Regions from separate parts of the Homo sapiens genome. Here region 1 is linked to region 2. Evidence: promoter capture Hi-C in human tissues and cell types (Jung and others, 2019). All regions are on one chromosome and are shown on one strand. Each heading gives the region's core, a stretch centred on a gene start or on the middle of the fragment in contact. The rest is flanking DNA. Distances are from core to core; before and after follow the strand shown. Region 1 has its middle 45 kb from the start of AHNAK. Region 2 holds the start of EEF1G (eukaryotic translation elongation factor 1 gamma).

Region 1 (3,624 bases), core at 27-2,526, 72 kb after region 2:
GACATGGATTGGACTGTTGATTGTTTTGTATTTATGAGCATTTGCTGAACTCTCACGGAATATGGAGAATTAAAAGTTGGACAGAAATGCTTCAGTAAGCCAGCGTGAACTGTACATAGGTTCACACAGGGAAAAAAAGGTCTTGGAGGTGGCTCCGAACACTACATGTCTCAGCCTTTTCATACTCCAGCCAATGCCCAGGGAGCACTTGGTGGTCTCTGCTTTTGACTTAGCTACTGTCAGCCTCTGCAGTCTCAAGCCGGCCTCTGCAGCCACACTCAGCTCTTCCCAGTACTCTTTTAACATACTCTTCTCTTTCCAGCACCTGGCTTTCATGCAGGCTTTTCTTCCTCATCCTTTGGGTTTCAGCTCAGAGGTCATTTCCTCCTGGAAGCCTTCCTGGATACTCCCCATCTTCCCCAGCTATCTCACGCATTCATGTTGCTCTGTACTTTTTTGTTCTTAGCACTATTCATATTAAAATATTAGTGGCCAATGGCTTGTCTGTCTGCCTCTTGCTCCGGACTGTCAGCTCTGTGAGTGAGAAGTAGTATGCTTGTCCATCATTATGTCTCCAGCACACGGCCAGGCACATGGCACGTGGCAGAAACTTGATAAGCCATCTTATCACTAACCGATCACTTCATACACTTCCCCTCAGCGACTGGTGCTCCAATTTTCCTTCTGTCAATTACTGTTTAGTTTCTTGATCTCTCAGGTTTTAGCCTGTACTTAGGGTAAAAACAAACAAAAGTTAAAGAACAAAACAAAATAAACATTCTCTAATAAACGGTTGCTGAAGTTTTGCACTTTGGCTGCTTTCCTTGAGCTGCTGAGTGTGAATTCAGCTAAATTCTGTGCCCTGTTGGCTGGCAAACTTCTCAAATTGACACCATTCCAGCCCCCAGGACTGCCCTGCTGGGGTGGGAAAGGAGGCAGAGGAAAAGCTTGGAGACTCTGAAGTCGAGGACCTGAAGCCCAAGAAAGGTGGGGTGGCAAGAACGGCAAAAAGGGTGTTGCTTGGGGCAGGAAGTTGAGGAAGAGGGAGTGAAGGAGTGCTCGGGTGTGGAAGAGGAGAAGACACCCCAAATCTGCCCAGTTTGGTCCGAAATGGGTGGCTGGCATCTGAAACGTCTCTCACTGCTTAAGTCTAGGAAGTGTGGCTTTTGATTATTCTTTTGTTCTCCTTCCCTTCCTTCCTAGAGAATTTTTTGACCTGGAAAGCCTGGCTGGGATGTGGAGGGTTGTGTTTCCCACCTGCAGCAATGCGGGGCTGGCTTTGTCTTTGCAGCGAACTGCCCCATGCCCCCTGCCTGCCCCACCGCTCTCTTTGAGCCTGACAGACACAGCAACAGTGGCTCCGTGGCCAGCGTCCAGCGCTGCAGAATGAGACAAAGCCCTGTGTATTTGCTGGGCAGCACTTGGCTGTGATATATTGACATGTGAGCGCAGTAGAGTATTTGTGGCATCTGGAGAGCAAAGTGCTCACATCATGCTGGGGTTTGGCAAGTGCATTTATTTCTCTCAGGGTTTGACAAAGTTCTTTTATTTTATTTTTTTGAGATGGAGTTTTGCTTTGTCATCAGGCTGAAGTGCAGTGGCGCGATCTCGGCTCACTGCAACCTCCACCTCCCGGGTTCAAGCAATTCCCCTGCCTCAGCCTCCTGAGTAGCTGGGACTACAAGTATGCACTACCCTGCCTGGCTAATTTTTTGTATTTTAGTAGAGATGGAATTTCATCACGTTGGCCAGGATGGTCTCAATCTCCTGACCTCATGATCCACCCACTTTGGCCTCCCCAAGTGTTGGGATTACAGGCGTGAGCCACCGTGCCTGGCAGGCAAAGTTCTTCTAGAATGTAGAATTTGAGGCATTGAGACTGGAAATCCCTTTGAAAGGCAGGGATAAAATTGTTTTTTTTTTTTGGATGGGGTCTCACTCTGACCCCCAGGCTGGAAAGCAGTGGTGCCATCTGCCACTCCACCTTCTGGGCTCAAGAAATCCTCCCACCTCAACCTCCCAAGTGCCACCACGCCTGACTAATTTGTTTTGTGTTTTTGATTTTTTTTTGTAGAGATGGTGTTTCACTATGTTGCCCAGGCTGGTCTCGAACTCTTGGGTTCAAGCAATTCTCCCATCTCAGCCTCCCAAAGTGTTAGGATTACAGATGTGAGCCACTGTGCCTGGCCAGAATTGTATGTTTTAATGTGATACAGTATGTCTGAGCAATGTCCACATCCAGTTGTCAAGGGGGAAAAAACTTGATAGTGAGCATTCCCAGCTCAACGCTGCCTTGTTCAAAACTCAGCTGACATAGAGGCTTCTGCTGGTTCCCTGTCCACACAGAGTAAGCTCTTCCCAGCCAAAGGGGAGATGAAAGGATTATTTACTATGTAAAGTGGTGAGGCAGAAATCTCCCAGTTTGTTCACTTAGCTCAAAGTGGGAGAAAAAAAATGATGTTGAGGCGGTTCTATAGCTCGATTTCTGGTATGATCAACTGGGAGCAGCAATTTAAAACCCACTTGGATTTTTTAAGTCACTGGGGAGGTTCGGAGCCACATACCACGCCCTGTGTGTCATCATCGGGCTCTCTGAGGGACAGCACGTAGGTTTGGGAGGAACAGGTTCAAACCTGACTCTGATCGTTAACGAAGGTAGTGTTCTGTAGCACACATGACTCTCTGGGCCAATCAGATTACCCCAGCCTTCTAGCACCTGTGTGAACTGACATAGCTGGGAAGCTGGCTAGGCTGGGCTCAGGTGGGGCAGCCAGGTACCTTTATAGTATGATTTGAAGGCCTCAGGTGAGGCTGCCCTAGCCTGAAATATCTCCCCTACTGGCTTGTCAAGGATGTCTGAATTTCGCTACTATTGAGTCATTCCTTTGCGTTTACTACGGTCCTCGTTTTGTGAGTGCAGATTGATCTGGAATACAGGATCCTTAACCTTCCCATCTTAATTGCGTGGATACAACTAGACTATGTTTAATCTCTTGGGTAAGCCACAAACTAAGTTCCACTTTTTCATGCCAGGCCTGTCTTGAGGCATTTCACCTGCCCTCTTCTCTATTCTGTTCAGCTTAGACAAGAAGCAAGCTGGAGCCAGGTAGTCTGGTGTGGGGGACAGAGGAGCAGAGGACTGGAAAGTGAGGGCACCCAGGAGCAGCAGGCTCTCCTTCCTGGCTTCTGGCTTTCCAGCACAGAAAAGCTTGGCTGAGCCTTGGTCTGGTGTCAGATGACGCCTGAAGGGAGATGTGATCTCCCCATTTTGGCCCAGATGGAGCACAGTTAGCTCTTACATGGACTTCCTTCCACTTACTCACTTTCCCTTTACCAGCTATCCTCTGTCCTCCTACTGCTGCACTCTCAGCCATCATCATTCTACGTGGCCTCATGCCAGAAGGGAAGTCTCATTGGCATCCCAGAGGAGCCAGGAGCTCCTAAGCCCCACCAGCACTCGGCCACACCCCTTTCCCCTTTGTGGCTTGGTTCACAGTCTCCAGGAGATGGAGGAGTGGCTAGGAGCTGCGCAGCTGCCGACAGCTCAACTTGTGCGGCTGGTTTTTTGTTTTTTTGAGATGGAGTCTTGCTCTGTTGCCCAGGCTGGAGTGCTGTGGTGCGATC
Region 2 (3,965 bases), core at 1,387-3,886:
ATTTTACAGATGAAGAAACCATGTTTGGGAGCAATTAAGTGACTTGCCCAAGGTTACACTGGCTAGCAAGGAGCAGCAGCATCTGGGCAAGGACATCATGTGGGGGCAGGGAGAGAGGTTTGACCTCTTGTTTATAGGGATCAGAGAAGCCTAGCTTCCTGGGACTCTGCTGAGCCCCTTGGAAGGGAAAAAGTCCTGCTAAGGAAATGGCTCTGGTGCAGGACCTGTATCAGTTCTGGCCTCTAAGTGACCCCCCTTTCCCCACTCTTCCTCCTCCTCCAGGTTCCCTGCTAGCCCAGTTCTTCTCCTGTGTATCTTGTTGGGATCTTCGTGGCTCCCTGCTGTCCCTGCGGGAGGGTCAGGCACTGCCTGTGGCAGGGGGCCTGCCTTCTAATCTCTGGGAGGGTCTGCGCCTTGGCCCCCTGAATCTCCAGGACCCTTTTGACCTGAGTCACAATGTCGCAGCCAATGTGACCAGCCGGGTGGCTGGGCGCCTACAGAACTGCTGCCGAGCAGCAGCCAATTACTGCCGAAGCCTCCAGTACCAGCGCCGTTCCTCCCGGGGTCGGGACTGGGGGCTGCTCCCTCTTCTGCAGCCCAGCTCCCCCAGCTCCCTGCTCTCTGCTACGCCGATCCCTTTACCCCTTGCACCCTTCACCCAGCTCACTGCTGCCCTGGTGCAGGTATTCAGGGAAGCACTGGGGTGCCATATAGAACAGGCAACCAAGAGAACGCGGTCAGAAGGAGGTGGAACTGGGGAGTCCTCTCAGGGAGGGACAAGCAAAAGACTCAAAGTAGATGGACAGAAAAACTGCTGTGAGGAGGGGAAAGAGGAGCAGCAGGGATGTGCAGGGGACGGTGGGGAAGACAGGGTAGAAGAGATGGTTATAGAGGTTGGAGAGATGGTGCAGGACTGGGCCATGCAGAGCCCTGGGCAGCCAGGGGACCTGCCCCTGACCACTGGAAAGCATGGAGCCCCTGGAGAAGAGGGGCAGCCCAGCCACGCAGCCCTGGCAGAGCGGGGGCCCAAGGGACATGAGGCAGCCCAAGAATGGTCTCAGGGTGAGGCAGGGAAGGGGGCATCCCTGCCCTCCTCAGCGAGCTGGCGCTGTGCCTTGTGGCACCGAGTGTGGCAAGGGCGGCGGCGAGCCCGTAGACGCTTGCAGCAGCAAACCAAGGAGGGAGCTGGAGGTGGCGCTGGCACAAGAGCAGGGTGGCTGGCGACTGAGGCTCAGGTCACCCAGGAGCTGAAAGGACTGAGTGGTGGCGAAGAGAGGCCAGAAACTGAGCCCCTGCTGAGCTTTGTGGCGTCTGTCTCCCCGGCTGACCGAATGCTCACTGTGACCCCGCTCCAGGATCCCCAAGGCCTGTTCCCTGATCTCCATCATTTCTTACAGGTTTTCCTCCCTCAAGCAATTCGACATCTCAAGTGAAGACATGGCCCCTGAAGGGCAATAAAGCTGCTAGTTTATTAATACAGTCTCCCGTTTCCTTTCATTTCCATCTGGTCATAATCCCCCTTCCCCTCCCCCAGAACTTCCTGCAGCTGCTCCCGTCTGACCCCGAACATGGGTCTCTCCCTGTTGCTCTCCACCCCACCAGCTTCTCCTTCCTACAGTTCGCACAGCTCGAGGGGAGTGCGGGGGCAGCACCGCGCGTGGCACCTGGCACCCGCGCAGAGTTCCTGAATGGCAGAGCGGTGGGTGGCTCCAGCAGTACTGAGAAGAGCCAGGTTTGCCTCCACATTCTTCCTGTCGCCTCAGATTTATGCGCACAAGGACGGAGATTTGCGTTCAGCGTTCTTCATTCTCTCCTTTAAACGAGGAGAGTTCATCCCGTTCTTAAACTGGGTAAGAGATTTCAAACCTGAACATGGGTCAAAAGCCATGAACATCAGAAGCGACGATGTCAGGTCTTCCAGCGTCAGCCCCTCCAGGGGCCGAGTCCGGAGGAGGTGGGAGGGACAGGGCGCGTTCTCCCTCATGTCCCTGCCCTGCTTCGGGCCGGAGGGCCGGTGCCCTGCTCGCAGTAACAGCACCCTGGAGCTGTCAGGGGTTGGATGTGAGCAAACCTCACTTTGGCAGGCGGGTTCAGACCGGGGCCCCTGTTAGACGCTCATCCCTTTCTGGAGGAAAAGCAGAGCAGGAACTAAAGGGATTTAGCACACACACTGCCACCTCCGCGCAGCAGCTGTTCCTCGCTCCCATGAGTTTCATAGAATCATGTGAGGGGCTTGGCAAAATCTACCATCAAGTCACTTGTCCCTGGGAGGGCCAGAGAGGGACGCCCCCAGTAGCACTGGCCGCGCCGGGCCAACAACCGCGCCACGTAGCCAAGAACTCGCGGCTTTTCCAGCGGGTTCTCACAACTTCCCCGCCCTCCACGCTGTCTACCTCCACGTCTAGACTCCGATTGGCCCGCTGCACCTGGGGGGCGGGCCAGTCAAGAGCTCCAATGCGCAGGCCCGAGCTTTTTCCGCGCTGGCCAGCAGGCCCCACCCACCCAGTTCTTTTTCCAATTCAGCGCCACTGGATACCGAACTGTCGTACGTATGTCTTCTGTTTCGTCCTCGCTTTCCGGCTGCTGTTTCTCCACGGCTCTCCTCTTTCCCCCTCCCTTCTCTCCCGGGCGGCTTACTTTGCGGCAGCGCCGAGAACCCCACCCCCTTTCTTTGCGGAATCACCATGGCGGCTGGGGTAAGTTTGCTGGCTCTGGTGGTTCGGGTCATCCTATCCACCGCCATCCTTTGCCCGAGTGGGGCCAGTCGGCGCCAGAGGAGTTCTGAGGTTGAGTGGGGAACTGATTCGGGGGTCTACAGACTGTACTGCTGGAGAGTAGGGTTCCTAGGGCCTGGAGGGGAACTGAGGCTGGGGCTCTCGGAGGCCAGAGGTGGAAGGGTCTGGGGAAGAGGAGAAAAGAGATGCCGGGTCTGGGCCGTCCGAAGCCTGAGAAAGGGGTTCGGCTCTGTTGCCGCTTTGAGGCGTGGTATCTGGGCAGGTTGACGAACTTCTGTGTCCGTTTTGTGGAGTAACACAGGGGACAGGTTGAAGAGGAGGGTCTTTGTAGGCAGGTCCGGCTGGCACGGTTAAAGGTCGTCTCTCAGGGAGGTTTGGGAGCGAGAGGATTCTCCGGACAGTGAAGTCAGACCAATTGGACTCCGCTGGCCGGCATAATAGAGAAGCCCAACGCCGGGGAACTCGCTGCGGGACAGGACCGGAGGGATGATATTCGCGACACGGAAAGAAAGGCTTTTTGAGAGAGAGGAGTTGATTTAAGAAGACGGCATGCCATCCCCTATCTCTGGCTAGTCTGAGGGGAACTAGAAATCTCTCGATCGTCGTGCGTGCCTTAGAGACAGGACGATGCTTTTGAAGCGGTGAGCAGCTGAGCAGTAGAGTAGGCAGGCGCTCGGAACCATCAATGAATGAAGCGAGGGCTCCGGGAAGGGAGGAGAGTATGTTTGTAGGCAGATGGAGTCTGATGGAGCTAGAAGTTCTGGATTTCTTGGAGATAGATTTGAGAGGAAGAGAATACTTCCAGAGGTGTCCTTAGGGAAGGTCAAATCTGTCAACAAGCTTTATTTAGCAGTTGGTGTGTAGTTCTGTTCTTGGTATTTCGGAGGATTCTGATTACATATGACAAGTACTAAAGGACTTGGTTCACCAGAGGAAGTAAAAGGGTGAGTTGAATACATTGGGATTATTCAGGAAAGTCATCCTGGAGAGTGGCATTAAGGACTGGGACCCTTCTACTCATTAATTTTGTCCCTCTCTTTCTCCCATAGACCCTGTACACGTATCCTGAAAACTGGAGGGCCTTCAAGGCTCTCATCGCTGCTCAGTACAGCGGGGCTCAGGTCCGCGTGCTCTCCGCACCACCCCACTTCCATTTTGGCCAAACCAACCGCACCCCTGAATTTCTCCGCAAATTTCCTGCCGGCAAGGTGAGTTGGGAGATGGGGAGCA

The links. Contacts are between HindIII fragments. The study calls those that stand out against the background at their distance.
Region 1: a contact is called between a fragment that was not itself captured here and the fragment with the promoter of EEF1G in region 2, in 3 of the 25 tissues and cell types used here (bladder, liver and neural progenitor cells).

The regions. Positions count from the first base shown.
Region 1 is chr11:62,499,502-62,503,125 of GRCh38, reverse strand. It overlaps a transcript of AHNAK not described here. Among named protein-coding and RNA genes, the nearest start is that of AHNAK, 45 kb to the left of the region's middle. The HindIII fragment of the contact is 6,767 bases long and covers 1-3,624 here.
Region 2 is chr11:62,572,562-62,576,526 of GRCh38, reverse strand. It overlaps EEF1G (eukaryotic translation elongation factor 1 gamma), which reads left to right and starts at 2,636. Exons shown (of 10, transcript NM_001404.5): 1 at 2,636-2,696; 2 at 3,785-3,943. The coding sequence starts at 2,685. TUT1 (terminal uridylyl transferase 1, U6 snRNA-specific) reads left to right here. Exons shown (of 9, transcript NM_022830.3): 9 at 283-1,475. The coding sequence ends at 1,433. RefSeq lists enhancers at 589-1,550, 1,708-1,767, 1,551-2,512, 2,468-2,667. The HindIII fragment of the contact is 13,406 bases long and covers 1-3,965 here.